5 separate regions of the Homo sapiens genome follow, and regions 1, 2, 3 and 4 are each linked to region 5. Evidence: promoter capture Hi-C in human tissues and cell types (Jung and others, 2019). All regions are on one chromosome and are shown on one strand. Each heading gives the region's core, a stretch centred on a gene start or on the middle of the fragment in contact. The rest is flanking DNA. Distances are from core to core; before and after follow the strand shown.

The links. The method cuts DNA at HindIII sites, captures the fragments that hold promoters and counts their contacts. A contact is called where the count stands out against the background at its distance.
Region 1: a fragment that was not itself captured here is called in contact with the fragment with the promoter of CSMD3 in region 5 in 2 of the 25 tissues and cell types used here (mesenchymal stem cells and spleen).
Region 2: a contact is called between a fragment that was not itself captured here and the fragment with the promoter of CSMD3 in region 5, in 2 of the 25 tissues and cell types used here (H1 embryonic stem cells and pancreas).
Region 3: a fragment that was not itself captured here is called in contact with the fragment with the promoter of CSMD3 in region 5 in 2 of the 25 tissues and cell types used here (lymphoblastoid cells and mesenchymal stem cells).
Region 4: a fragment that was not itself captured here is called in contact with the fragment with the promoter of CSMD3 in region 5 in 1 of the 25 tissues and cell types used here (dorsolateral prefrontal cortex).

What each region holds. Positions count from the first base shown.
Region 1 is chr8:112,726,649-112,729,383 of GRCh38, reverse strand. The region is part of intron 13 of CSMD3 (CUB and Sushi multiple domains 3); the gene reads left to right. Among named protein-coding and RNA genes, the nearest start is that of MIR2053, 85 kb to the right of the region's middle. The HindIII fragment of the contact is 5,790 bases long and covers 1-2,735 here.
Region 2 is chr8:112,880,339-112,883,038 of GRCh38, reverse strand. The region is part of intron 10 of CSMD3 (CUB and Sushi multiple domains 3); the gene reads left to right. Among named protein-coding and RNA genes, the nearest start is that of MIR2053, 240 kb to the right of the region's middle. The HindIII fragment of the contact is 4,683 bases long and covers 1-2,700 here.
Region 3 is chr8:114,211,953-114,214,671 of GRCh38, reverse strand. No RefSeq gene overlaps it. Among named protein-coding and RNA genes, the nearest start is that of CSMD3, 780 kb to the right of the region's middle. The HindIII fragment of the contact is 5,366 bases long and covers 1-2,719 here.
Region 4 is chr8:112,457,160-112,459,859 of GRCh38, reverse strand. The region is part of intron 32 of CSMD3 (CUB and Sushi multiple domains 3); the gene reads left to right. Among named protein-coding and RNA genes, the nearest start is that of MIR2053, 180 kb to the left of the region's middle. The HindIII fragment of the contact is 3,506 bases long and covers 1-2,700 here.
Region 5 is chr8:113,435,531-113,438,255 of GRCh38, reverse strand. It overlaps CSMD3 (CUB and Sushi multiple domains 3), which reads left to right and starts at 1,317. Exons shown (of 71, transcript NM_198123.2): 1 at 1,317-1,579. The coding sequence starts at 1,402. RefSeq lists enhancers at 1-383, 396-445, 2,223-2,725. The HindIII fragment of the contact is 9,532 bases long and covers 1-2,725 here.

The DNA of each region.
Region 1 (2,735 bases), core at 208-2,707, 710 kb after region 5:
TTCACACTGTATTAGGAAAATAACAACAATCAGTCAAGAATATTTCAGCTTTTTTCAAAACTGGTACTATCACTACTCTTCTATTGTTCATCCTTCCTGTTAAATGAAAGATTGGCCCCTCCTCCCTCACCCCTGCTCTAAGAACACTCTTGTTCTTTTGCTCTGGATCTCATGCCTTTTCACCTTCTCATTCCTGCACTCTCATTCACTTTTGGTGAGAGTGTACTTTGACAAAATCATCTGGAGATACAGTTTTGCAATATATTAAAACAAACAGAAAAAGTACATAACTTTTGATTCAAAATTTTACTTTCAAAAACTTGTTCCACAGAAATATTCAGCTTAACAAAAATAAAAATGTCAGTTTTTGAAGCATTATTTGTACTATGTAAAATATATATATGTGTGTTTGTATATGTATGTGTATATATGTATATGTAACTCTTAAATTCCCTCAGTTTGCTGATGTCTATTATGTAATGCAATTTTAAAAGTTATTTTAATTTTTAAAAATGAATAATAATTTGTACATATAGATATTGTATGGTGTCCATAATTGCCGAAATAATCAAACAAATATCAGAAGCAGAACTTTACTTATTTGTTTTAAATAGGAGAAATGGCATGCAAATTTATTAATGTGCACGTGGTGAGAACCACAGAGTGATTACTCCCCATTCCTCAATGGAGTTCAGAAACTCATATTCCTTCTTGAAGTTACAGAAAGAATGGGGGCTTGTATCATGGCAAAATACATTATGGGAGGAGGAGAAGAAGGGGCTTGGCTAGCAAAGGTGGTCTTGTTATGTAGAACTTTACTTGTGACACATTTTTGTTCAAAACAACAATAACAGAATATAGGTATGAATAAGGCTGAAAGAGTAAAACTGTTAACAGTCTTCGTTCTCAAAAAGTAGAAATATAGGAGGAAGTTTTGGTTTTGTATATGTCCATTTTGTTTCTAACAATTAACCTCTATTGATATTTACATACATACGTGTATAGATATATAACTTATTTTAATTCTTTATTGTTTTTAGTAAAATTATAAGCATATAAATTACATCTAACTCATATTTTTTTTGTTCAGTGTTTTGGAACTTTATGTTACCTCTGTTTTTATTGTTCAATTTCCTAAGCTATTCATCTAAATAAATTTACTTGAAAAATTTGGTTGTCATAATCAGTTTACTGTCTTGAGAGCACTTTATCTAATCTTAATGAAGGGGAGTTAGAAATCTAGCTGACAAAGCTTTAATTCTTCCCAACAATCTGCATTTTCTATCACATGACTACCCCTAATTAACTATAGTGTTAATGCCTTTTGTCTTTTATGATAAACAACAAGAAAATGCCTGTTGGAAAAGGAAATTAGCATTACACCAGATAATTTCAAATTGTTGCCAATGTAACACAAGAGTTTACAGTCTGGAAAATATGATAAGTCAAATTTTAGACACTAAGATTTAATTATTTGACTTTTTCAAAATTACGCTATGTTTTTTGGTTAATGAAATTACTTCACATAGAATGAATTCACATTTTAAACAGTTTAAAAATGCCATTTAGAATCCGACAGTATTTTACTGTTCCACTTCATTTTGAATAAGATATGGGTAAAATATACTTATTGTAAAAAGTAACATAAAATAGATCAATAATCAATCCTAGATCACAGTAATTGTACTTGTAAAATCACAGATAGTATACAATGACTTTCATATAAAAATGGAAATATTAAGTTTTGATTTTATTCTTTTTAATTAGATATATATATAGGCTGATGGTCAGTATTTTTTAAAAGCCAATTTGCAAACTGAGAAAGAAAATTATGCCATTTAAACTGAAGTCATTAAGAATCTTGAAGCAGTGTGTAACACCCTCCAAGAATAGTCCTTGGGGTTTAAATGCTCACTCACCCTCTTTGTTAGTTTAATTCAACAGAAAATATCTTGTTCACACACTAGACAGAGTTGGAAAGGAGCCATAGAAGATTATGTCCACTCAATAAAATAGACCCTTTATGTTTATGTTGCTTTGCTCATAATCTCATATCTATAGCACTACAACCAATTAATTGCAGTATATTCAGTTTGTGGAAAATCAGACGCAGTTCATGACTTATCTTTTTGATACATTTTTGTTGAGAACTTTATAACTCATCAAAACTTCCCTTAACACAATATATGAAATGTTTACTGTATATGATACAAATCAGGAAAATTCTATAATTATTCAAAATAATTATACATTTGTATAGTTCCAGAAAAATAATAGATTTTAACAGCATATGAGATTTTTTAATATAGTCTGTATTTTTTGTTGTTCAGAAATAAATACCTGAAGAATGAGGCTAAATAAATTTAAGAAGCATAGTCATTTTTGTCTTTATTTTTTAGAATTCTTTGCTTGGTCATGAACTATATTGAGAAATAAAATGAGCTTTAATCAGTCATTTTCTCTTGAATCATATTCCCATTGGTTCTTATATTTACTAATTTGATGTAATATCATTTTGTTGCTTAGTGTTATTGATCAAGCATTAAATCTAATACATTACATCAATAATCAAATTTTCCTTTTTTCCGTATCTTTTTAAAAATTTAATGACGCATCTATAGTATTTGGATTATCTTTCATTACGTTGTTGTTATAACTTTGCAAATAAAGTTATGAGAAAAGGAAGAATTTCAAAATAGGAAAGGCTAAAATCCTGTTGGTTGGATGAGTAATGT
Region 2 (2,700 bases), core at 114-2,613, 560 kb after region 5:
ATTTACCAGGTGGGCCCACTGTGTGCTTTTCAGAATGCAGCATCTGATTTTGACATTTATATTTCACTTCTCAATCTTAAATATGAGCTTTTGTGTATTTTTTCTTATTTAGAATTTTGAGAGATCTGATTCAGCTAATTTGCCTGTCAACTTATTAGGCTAAAGAAATTATTTCTTGGAGTTCCTGTTATGAAAAGTCTTTAACCTGTTTATGGGCATCAAAAGTTTCTTAAGTGTCATTCAACTTGTTTCAGTGTGGCAGATAAAGGATGGATTCATTTTCTTTTGCCATCCAGTGTCTACATAATTTAGGACAAATGTATTTGTTCAATGTAAACCGAAGAGTGTCTGAGACAAGTCTCAATTAATTTAGAGGTTTATTTTGTCAAGATTGAGGATGTGCCCAAGAAAATGAGACACAAGCCACAGTAGGATCTGTGGTTCACACGCTTTCCAAAGGGGATCTTGAGATCTTCAATAAATAAAGGGAAAAGAGTGGGAAGGAGGGGAAAAGAGGAAAGCAAAGAAAGTAGAGTAGGTAGTGAAATAAGGGGACACATTCCTATGAGGCTTTAATGAGCTTTTACAGAATCCATGTGCAAAGGAAGCTTGTAGGGAAACAGTCATTTATGCATTGTCATGCTCAGTAAATCTGCATTTTTCTCAAGGGTGGGCAAGGGATGATTTCTAGTCTTATCTTTGTCTCTTACCTGCAAAGAGAAGCTGTTAATTTACATTGTCAGGGTGAAGGAAGCTACCTGGGGAGACATGTGGTCTTGTATCTTGTTGCTGGTTAGTAACAAAAGGAAAGGCAGATTTTTGCTTGAGACTCAGTTTCCAAGCTTAATTTTTCCTTTTGACATAAAGACTCTGGGGTCCTGAGATTTTCTTGTCCTTTCACATCTGTATAGCTCTGAATGATAGTTTTATGCTAAGGCTTCCCTATTTCTGATTTCTTTTTGATTTTCAGAATTTTTTCTTAGATTGATATAATTATACCATTCTACCTACCAGTCTCCCAGAAAAAGGAATGAGTAAAATAAACTCAATTAGGGATCAGGGACCTTGACAGTTGACATTCTGTACAATATTATGTTTGTTCCTGGAATTAATCAATAATATTTTTTAAAAATATTATTATTTTGCATAGAGAAATAGACTCTCCTGTAAATAAGTGTTTCTCATATCCTAGGATTCACTGACCCAATTCCCAGCAGTAGTCTCCTAATCGGGAAGAATTTGTTCCTTTTTCTCTTTCCTTTATTTCCCTTTGTAAAGGTCTTGAATGCCACTTTAGGGGAATATTCTACTTGTTGTTAAGCAGGAAAAAGTTTCTAATGAAACCTCATTATTTTGGGAAACGGTTGGCTATTATGCTGCCTTCATATCACCAAGGATTTGTTAAGCCCTTCAGTAAAATAAAAAGATTGGAGTGCAGAAAACAGTAAATCTACCTAAAAAGAACCTGTTTCAAGTTACTTTAAAAATTGCTTAGCAGCATCATTTTCATACCAAGGGCTACAACCTGTTCACAATAATTCTTAACAATTCATAGAAACATATTTATAGGATTGTAAGAAAATGTTAACACTTTGGTTGTTAGATACATTTGAAAGAAATGCAATTTAATGTCTTTAAAAAATGCTGTTTAGTCCAGATTTTTAACATGCTTTGTCTTTACCATGCCTTCCATTATCTTGTATTAATGAGCCTTTAATTCGTTTAAAAATAAAAAACAGTACTTTCTAATATGACTCCTCAAAATGTTGTAAGTCCCCAAATATACACCCTCAGGACACCCCATACTTTTATTTTGTAGCAGTTGTTTCATGATTATATAATCAACTTGTTTGGGTTGTTTCCTGTTTGTCTCTCTCCCTGTAACGTGAGGTGCATGAAGGAGGGCCTGGTTCACAACTGTGTGATTATTCTCATAGAGTTGAGTGCATCATAGTTCTTTAATACATAGTGTAGGTTGAATGAGTGACTGAATATATACATAAATGAATAAATGTCTCTGCATTTAAACTAAATGGATATTTCAAACCATGTTGTACATAATAAATATATACAATTGTATTTGTCAAATAAATATGTAGAAAGTGAAAACAGCTACATTTTTAAGGATTTTATAGTATATGAGAAAAGTTATAAGACTGGACTTCCTGTAGTCTTGCATATAGGCTTACCATATTACTCTCTTAAATCCATCTGTATATGGCAGCTGGATCGATCTCCTTAAAGCTAGACATAGGTAAGTCAAGTGCCTTTTGGATATCCACAAAGTATCCCCCCTTAGCTTGACAAAAAAACAAAAATCCAACAACTGTAGTAGCCTATCATATATGACCCCCTTGAATAGGCATTTATTTACATCCCCAGCACCATCAAAAGAATTGCCCCAAATCCCAACGACCTTAGATGTTCTGGGAATTCCAGAGTTTTTCTGTATTCAATGTGCTGTTTAGTGTGTCTTTCCCCCTGCCTAGAAGTCCATTTTGAATTTCTATTCTAAGATTATGCATCCTGACTTTTCGAGATTCAGTTCTGACATCACCACCAGGATGCCTTCTCTAAAATCAGGGTAGCGAAAATGTCTATTCTTTTATGGTTCCATAACTCCTGATTACTTTTATCTTAGTACTTATAGGCTATTATTACAAGGGCCTGTTTGTATCCATTTAAGACTGCAAGCTCCTT
Region 3 (2,719 bases), core at 120-2,619, 780 kb before region 5:
TATCTTAGTATTTAGCACATAGCTGCTTCTTGATAAATATTGTTAGATGAATGCATATAAAACTGTAGAGTCATTTGTACTGTGTACAACACACAATTAGTTGTTTTAACATACGTAAACATTGGTTAATATTTTAGTAATGTTATATGTGGTTTTGACATATGGAAGAGCTAAGAGAAGCCTAGGATTGTCTAAGAAACCATTCTCACTATTCTTGGAATAAATTGCTATATTTCATTTTAATGTAAAATTTTAATTATGATATATATATATAAAGTGCAAGAATCATAAAAAGGCACATATACTTATCGATTTGATAAGTATTTGAATATACCGCTGAATTAGAACCCAAATGAAAAGACAGATTTTTAGCAGAATACTGTGAACTCTCTTTCTGCCTACTTTTAGTCACTACCTTCCTCTGTCAGGATAGATAAAATTCTGAATTCTTAAAATTTAAAACAGAGTTAATCTTTCTGTTTTGATACTTTAAATTATATCAATTAAATTATAGTGTATGTACTCTTTTGTGTCTGATTATTTTTCTCTCAACATCATTTTTTGGAAATTTTTGATAACTTCTACAAAATCTGAACATTATGCATACTCTATAATTTAGTAACTAATACATATTTGTATATATACAACAAGGCGCACACATATTCATCAAAGATGAGAAAAAATATTGAGAAGCACTATTCATAACTGTCTCAAACTCAGAATAAAATTCTATTAATAGTACAATTTACTATCCTCATGTAATGAAACATTATACAAAAATAAAAAAATCACACGAAACAATATAGATGTCTGACAAAATAATGTTGAGCAAAATAACTCATATTTCTCTTTAACTCTTGCCATTGGTGACATTGTTATTAAGAATTATGAGTTAAGAATTAAGCTTTTTTTTGGCGATTAAGCAAAATTATCCAGGAGGCCGCTGTCATATGCTCTATGACATTGAGTTTCAGAAAAATATGCAATTTTCTGGTAGTCACCAAAAGTAAAATAGCTCTTTGAAATTTTCTGATGGTGTGCATTTTAATGTAGATGATAAAAGACAGCTAGATTAGATAAATATCAATTTATCAGAAGAGAGTGAGAAAGAGAAAGAGATTATAAGTCTAAAAGTTCATAAACACCATTTCTCCAGGTAAATATAATTTAGGAAAAACCCAATAGCTTTCTATTTAAATATTTATTTCATCAAGAATACTTATATACCATTGTCTGAAGTTTCAAATACTCTTTATAAACATTTAAATAAACACCTGTGCTACTAATTTTATATGTAGAATTGTCTTACTCATACAAAATTATAATTCTTACATTATTTTGTGATTCTAGTGAATGAAAATTGACGATAACTATTATGTATGCCTTTAATAGTGATAGAACAGTGAGTTTGCATTTTTCAACATAAATGTATAATAATAGAATAATTTGGAATATGCAAAATAAGCTGTAGCTTCACACAAATTATAGAAAAATTTGTGAGTTAATGAAAATTAGCATTGGAAACAGCATGTTTGAACATCTGCATTTTTATTTATGTTATGTAAATTTTCTTTTAAAACAAATGTTATATAGATTTTTATTTTATAACCAATTTTTACAAAATGAATTTTCAATTGTATCACCTTTTAACTGAAAAAGTAAAATATATCTACCAATATAGCAATAGGTTTTCAAAACAATTAAAATGCCACTGAAACAAAATGATTAATTAGTATGATACATGATAAGCCAGGGAAATAAATAATGAAAAGAATAATCTTTAAAATCTTGTAAAGTACACTGAAAAACTGCATAGAAGAATATCATTTGCCCAGAAACATGAATGCTCTTTACACATATAATGTGCTTTGTCCCGTCTTACAAAATATTACTACAGAATTACTGAGAAGAGATATATTTGTATATACCCTAATGAATGTAAAATAAGCAAGAGGGAGAGTCAATGGCAGTGACATTTCTCATGGTATGAAAAAAATAAATTGCTTGAATACAAGGAAACCCTAATAAAATGTTTTCCTCAGGTTAATAATCAGAAATATGCATACTACGAAGAAACGAGGAAAATGCTGGCACAGACCATGCATGCTCCTGAAATGCCTTGAAAGTGAAAGTTACAAATATTCTTAAAAATGCTAATGAAAAAGGCTCTGGGCTCAATTCTGTATACTTGACCTATCCCATTATAAATGGCATTTTAGTAAAGGCAATTTTTGTACATGGAATTCTTGCTTAAAGCAGAGCACTAGATAGAAAATAACACAGAAAGTGAAAACAAATCAAATGAGAGTTGTTTGCAGCTTTTAGCGTTTTATCTCCCAAAAAAGACAGAATTTGAATTTGTTTCCTTGTATTACTTTTTTCTCTGTCTTCCTTCTTCTCACCTTTCTCCCTCTTTCCCTCCCTCTTTCCCTCCACCCCCATTCATTCTGTGCTACATTCATAACAAATTGTATTTGTCATCACAGGTTACTAGAGAGAGTAATTTCTGGATTTAATTTCTGGACCTAATTTCTGGAATAAGAAATAAAGTTAGCAGGTCAAGCAAGTATCTGATTACAGAAAACATTTTATATCATAATAAAGTATTTGTACTTCGAACTCCAGAAAATACAGAGCCAACGTTTACTTAAAATGTGAGGGTTAAAAGGTTACATTTAAAAAAATATATAATTCCAAATAATATGTATAGATATTCTCT
Region 4 (2,700 bases), core at 27-2,526, 980 kb after region 5:
TGAAAGGGACTATATATTTTTATCTCTAGTTGAAGAGCAAAGTACTAGTCAGGAACTAATATGCTTGAAACTGGTAAAGAAGGCAGAGACCAGATTATGAAGTGCCTGGTATGCCATGTTAAATCAATTCAACAAATGCTTATTGTGTTCTCACTTTGCTTCAGAGAATTATTTGCTAGGCTGAGGCTACCTAATGCCCAATGAAACAGAAATGCTTAATTGTTCTTGTTAGTATATTGTCTAATTGAGTAGTCAGATAACCCAGGGATAATATTCACCTGGTACTTAAGGGCACAACAATTTTCAGTTGTTAGAATTTTGAAACATTTACATGTACTGACAAATAGCCACTTTTCCAATCTCTAAAATTGCTCCATAATTCTCTGGCCGCTGGCCCTTCCCCAGCCTAGCAACACTTTTGACTCTTCTGTACCCACGTCATACTGATTAAATATTTTGAGAATTACCTTGTAAACATAATTGAATAAACCCCCCCCCCCCACACACACACACAACACACACACAATTATGAGCACAAATTTGGCTAGTGAGCATGAAGGGTGAGGAAAAAAAACCCAAAGTATAATGAGAAAGGATAACAGGAGGATCAAATTTAGATTAGGGAGATGAGTGAAAACTGCAGTATGCTGAAAATCGAAGGATGAGAAGGAGGTTGAAATGTATCTCCTGTACCATAGTAACTAATTAAGCTATTTTGCAGGGGATTAACAAAACCCGTTGGACATTTTAGTTAATATTATTTGTGGCAGGGAGAGAGTGGTTGTTTCAGAGGTATGGATGAGAAACAATGAGGGGATTAATTTAGGCAGTGGAGAAGGGAGGAAGCATTCATTGTTTGTAGAAGATAGTAGGGATGAGTGAGATCTGTGTATGTGCCTGAGTATGTGTGTATGTCAATATTCTAGTGTAATTCATGGTCTCTAATGATGGCAGCAGGCACATGAGTAGAAAGGAGCAAGTGATATTACAAAGACCTTGAGAACTGCTGTCAAAGCCCTTCCTGATGTCTAGACTTGAGATATGAATTCAGTGTCCAATCACCAGCTTTGCAGTTTCAGAAATTCAGTGTTGTCAGCTACCTCAGAAAGTATTCACACTTCAGGAGACAGGTTCACATTGTTTTCCACTCATCAAACCCAAAGGGACTGATTTATAAATCACAATACCAATTTCCAACTCTTTTTGTGAGAGAATATCTGGCAAGCTTGGCAGTCTTGGCCTTTTGCCTAGAACGCTTCATGTTGGTGGAAATAACTACTCCTTGGACAAAAGCATATAATTACTTTAAAAATTATAGTCACAAGCTTATTGACATTTAAGGATACCAGGAAGTAGTGTGATGTACTAATGAAAAGTTTATTTCAAACTACTACAGCTGGAAGAAATGTTCTTATCTACTCTAGAGACATTTCTTTATTTAGAATTCACTAAACCAACTTTACCCAAGACTTTGGGAGGGTAAACTAACATATCTGGGTGAGAGGACAGGGACATAAAGTCCAGCAAAATTTGGAAACATGGGGTTTAAAAAATATTTTAGGCTTATTTTCTCTAAGGATGCTAAGTGTCTTTAATAAGCCAATATGGATATTTTCTCTATCTCTGTTTCTCTGTGTGTGTGTGGGTGTGAGTGTGTGTGTGTGTACGTATTTGAAGGGGACTGTCTTTACAAAGTTGCAGCTCAATGAAAATACTGCGCTAATATGTCATCTCTTTGTGATCAAAGGTTGTATTTTTTTATTATTGAAAAAATAAAAGAGCTTGACAATTTTTTGCACATTAAAACAAATCTCAATATGTATTTACTGAAAATGCAAACAATTGAATTAATCAATGAATTAAGTAATCCTTTATCCTGGGTGAGGAGGACATTTTCTATGTTTCTTCCAGATACTTATTTACCATATTTATTTACCAAGGTATTAGCTTAATCATTAACCAAATGTTTGCTTAGTTGATCACTCCTCCATTCTTGGAAAAAATGTGGGTAAGCATCAATCTTGACACAGTCCTAAGCATTTAGACATTCATATGCAGCTGGGAGAAGCTAGTCCAGGAGTTATCTTACAGCCAAGATAAGGAGTATGGAGCCACAAACTCTGGACTGACACTTTGAGATTAGAAAGGAATGAGGAGGCCTAAATGCTTCATTTTAGCCTCTTCCCAGTTCCTCTTCACCTATTCCCTGCTCCTAAATTCCTCAACTTTACTCTGGCCTGGCATTCTCTACATTTTAGACATTTAGATAAAACTCTGGATAAGATGAGAAATTACATTTCTTGAACATTTAAATTTGTGATATGAGAACTGTATCATTTCATATAAGAGCTTTAAAAGACATTTCTCCGTAGAATTAACTGAAATATCATTCTGCAGGAAATATGGGTCACAGAGCATGCTGTAGGATTCTAGTAGCATTATACCTTTTAAGAATTCAGTTTAGACTGTAAATTCTTGATAAAATTGTACAGGCTTACTATTTCTGAACAATCCAGTTCTCTCACTCGCCTGTGAATTCTCTTCACTCCATTCCCCATGCAGGGAAACTTCTATCTAGGGTGTTGGTGGTACAAAATAAATAGGGCAGAGGAAAAACTCCATCTGACTAGCCAAGCATGTGTCCAATTATTTTCAATATTAATGCCCACACCTCCCCTTTGAAGCTTGAATTTGACTGTG
Region 5 (2,725 bases), core at 68-2,567:
GCACAGTGCAGGGAGCTGCAAACTCAAGTTGGGCAGTCCTCTAGACTAAGCCTTGTTGATAGACGCTCACGCCCATGATAGCCTGAGGCAGTTAAATGGAGCCACACGCAACAGCAATATCCTGTTTCAGAACTAGCGCTGTGGCACTCCCCACTGCTGAGAGGGGACCAGATTCCCGAAAAGGTCAGATCACCAATCAGTTGCCTAATCTAAGGAACTTGTTCATTGAAAGATTTGGGCCAGGACCGTGGTCGAAAAAAATCAAGGAGCACGACATACTGGTCCCGGGGACACAGCTCCCCTGACACCAAGGGATGGCAAAAACAGGGTCCCTTATACATGCGAAGGAAGAACGGGCGGCTCGGAGACGGCCAGTAGATGGCGCAAGAACTCTTCCCTTGTGCAATCTTAACCCTTGCGTGGTGCATGGGGGAAGCAGATCCAGATGTATAGATACATACATTTTTCGTTTTGAAAGAAACCTCCTATTTACATATTTGGTACCGATTCAGAATTAAGACAAATGGGTTTGTTCTAGATAACTACCACAGATAAAGTAGTTTAACTGCGGCACACACAAACTGAAAAGGGGGTTGGGAGGATGAAAGGGAGAACTATTTGAGGAAACGACATTGACTTCCCTCCCCACCCCACCCCCGCCCAGGCCACGGATGAAATCCGTTTCCCGAATCATAAAAACCCGGTGAAGGGTTTACACGTAGTTATTTGAGTATGTAAATACATGTGTTCAAATACATTCTTTTCCGTGTGAAGGCAGAATTTATTGAGAAAATTCTCTGTGATTTCCTTTTTCAATTAAATCACAGGATAATAAATGGGAGAAGCCTGCCTGAAATATACTGCAACTACAGTAGTAACACATGTCCCATTATAACGACGTGGGCATCGATGGAGCCCGATTCATTATCGTCACGGTTTCCCCAAAAGCAACACAGATCCTCCGATTAAAATATTCCTTTGACATGCTTCTGTATTCGCAGCCTGCAACGGAGAGCTCACTAACATTATTTCTTGGGCTGCTTTTACAGGCAGAATTGATCTATTCGGGGAAAAAAAGCAAGCCCCTTAATTTCAAATATTGTGTGGAGTTTATCAGAGAGCAGAGGTGGGCTTTAAGAGGCTCACTAGTGGTTTCTGGTGGTTGCTATAACGAGCCAGAATTGGGGTAGATTTTGGTGGAGGGGAAAAAACGCACAAGAAAAGACAGAATCCAGAGTAGCGGAGACTTTGTGCCCCCGTTGGAGAGATGGTTGAGTCCTCGTCAAGGTTGCTGTGGTATCCCAGAAACACCATTCACTCCGAGCTGTGACCGCGCACCAACAACAGCAACAACTCCACTGCGCCGGGCTGAGGAGCAGGAATTAGGAGCTCGCGAATAATATGAAAGGGATCCGCAAAGGGGAAAGCCGAGCAAAGGAATCCAAACCCTGGGAGCCTGGCAAGCGAAGATGCGCTAAATGTGGCCGCCTAGACTTCATCCTGATGAAGAAAATGGGGATTAAAAGTGGATTTACGTTTTGGAACCTCGTCTTTTTATTGACGGTGTCTTGTGTGAAAGGTAGGTCTGCTTTGGGGGTCCCCTCCGCTTTGGATGGAGGTGGGCTGACTTGTAGATGGAGAGAGGCTGGCAGCTTACTTTGCAATTTGCACCGATAAAATAATCTGATAATACTAAAGGAGTTGATTCACAGCTCGTTCTCCCCCCCTCAGATAGGAAATGCATTTTGCTTGCCAGATTTGGCGTTCAATGCGGTGATTGAGCTTGTGCTCAATAAATATTCTTGCAGTATGCTCAAACGAATACGTGAGTTGGTTAGTATAGCCTCTAACTAGTGGATATCCAGGCAGAATTCCTCTGCAAGACTTTTCTTAGTGGTGAGGATTACCTTGATTTCTTGTCAGATCACTAGGGCTTGAGGCTTTGGGTGGAATATATATATTAAAGACGCTGGTCTAAATGCTTTTTAACCCTTTCAGGGAAGAAAGTTATCGACGTGCTAGGAATGTGTTGATTTTAAATGCATTAGGGCACAGGGATCTTCCAAGCACTGCCACATCAACATGAATGTCTGCATGCATATGTATGTAAATTGGGCTTCTATGCAATGTTAAATGTAGGGGAGCTTCCCTAGGACCTGTGGTAGAGGTTTGGCAAAAAATGAGGCTTTCGAAGGGTCTGAAATGCCATGAAGTGTAAAGAACCACCTTAAGGGATGAATGAGGTAGGAGGAAAGTCATTAGCTGACGACCAAAAGAAAATCCCCAGCAAGTCTCAGCGTTCAGACAGGTAGAGTGAGTGTCACATGCACAGATAGGGGAGGGGGTAGGTGGGATGTAAAAATGTATTCCCAAGCAGGAAGGCAAGGGACAGTCAGGATCATGGGAAAAAGAGCTGTCCTTAGGGAGAAAATAGATCCATAGCTCTCTTCCACAACTTCTCCGGCACCCTGCTGCCCATTAATTGCTGCAAAGAATACTCAGGAGGTGTTTATGACTCATGCCATCATTTTTTGAACAATCACCTCTCCATACTCATGGCAGCTCGAATAGACGCTATGGATGCCGCTTTCAGTGAAGCTAGTTTCAAATCCCGGGTGTCTGTGTGTCGCGGGGGGGCGGGGGATCGCGGGAAAGGGGGTGCTGTTTTGGCCCAGGCGCGCCAGGGCTGTCAACACAAACTGGACGCTTCTTCCTTTGTAAAGGA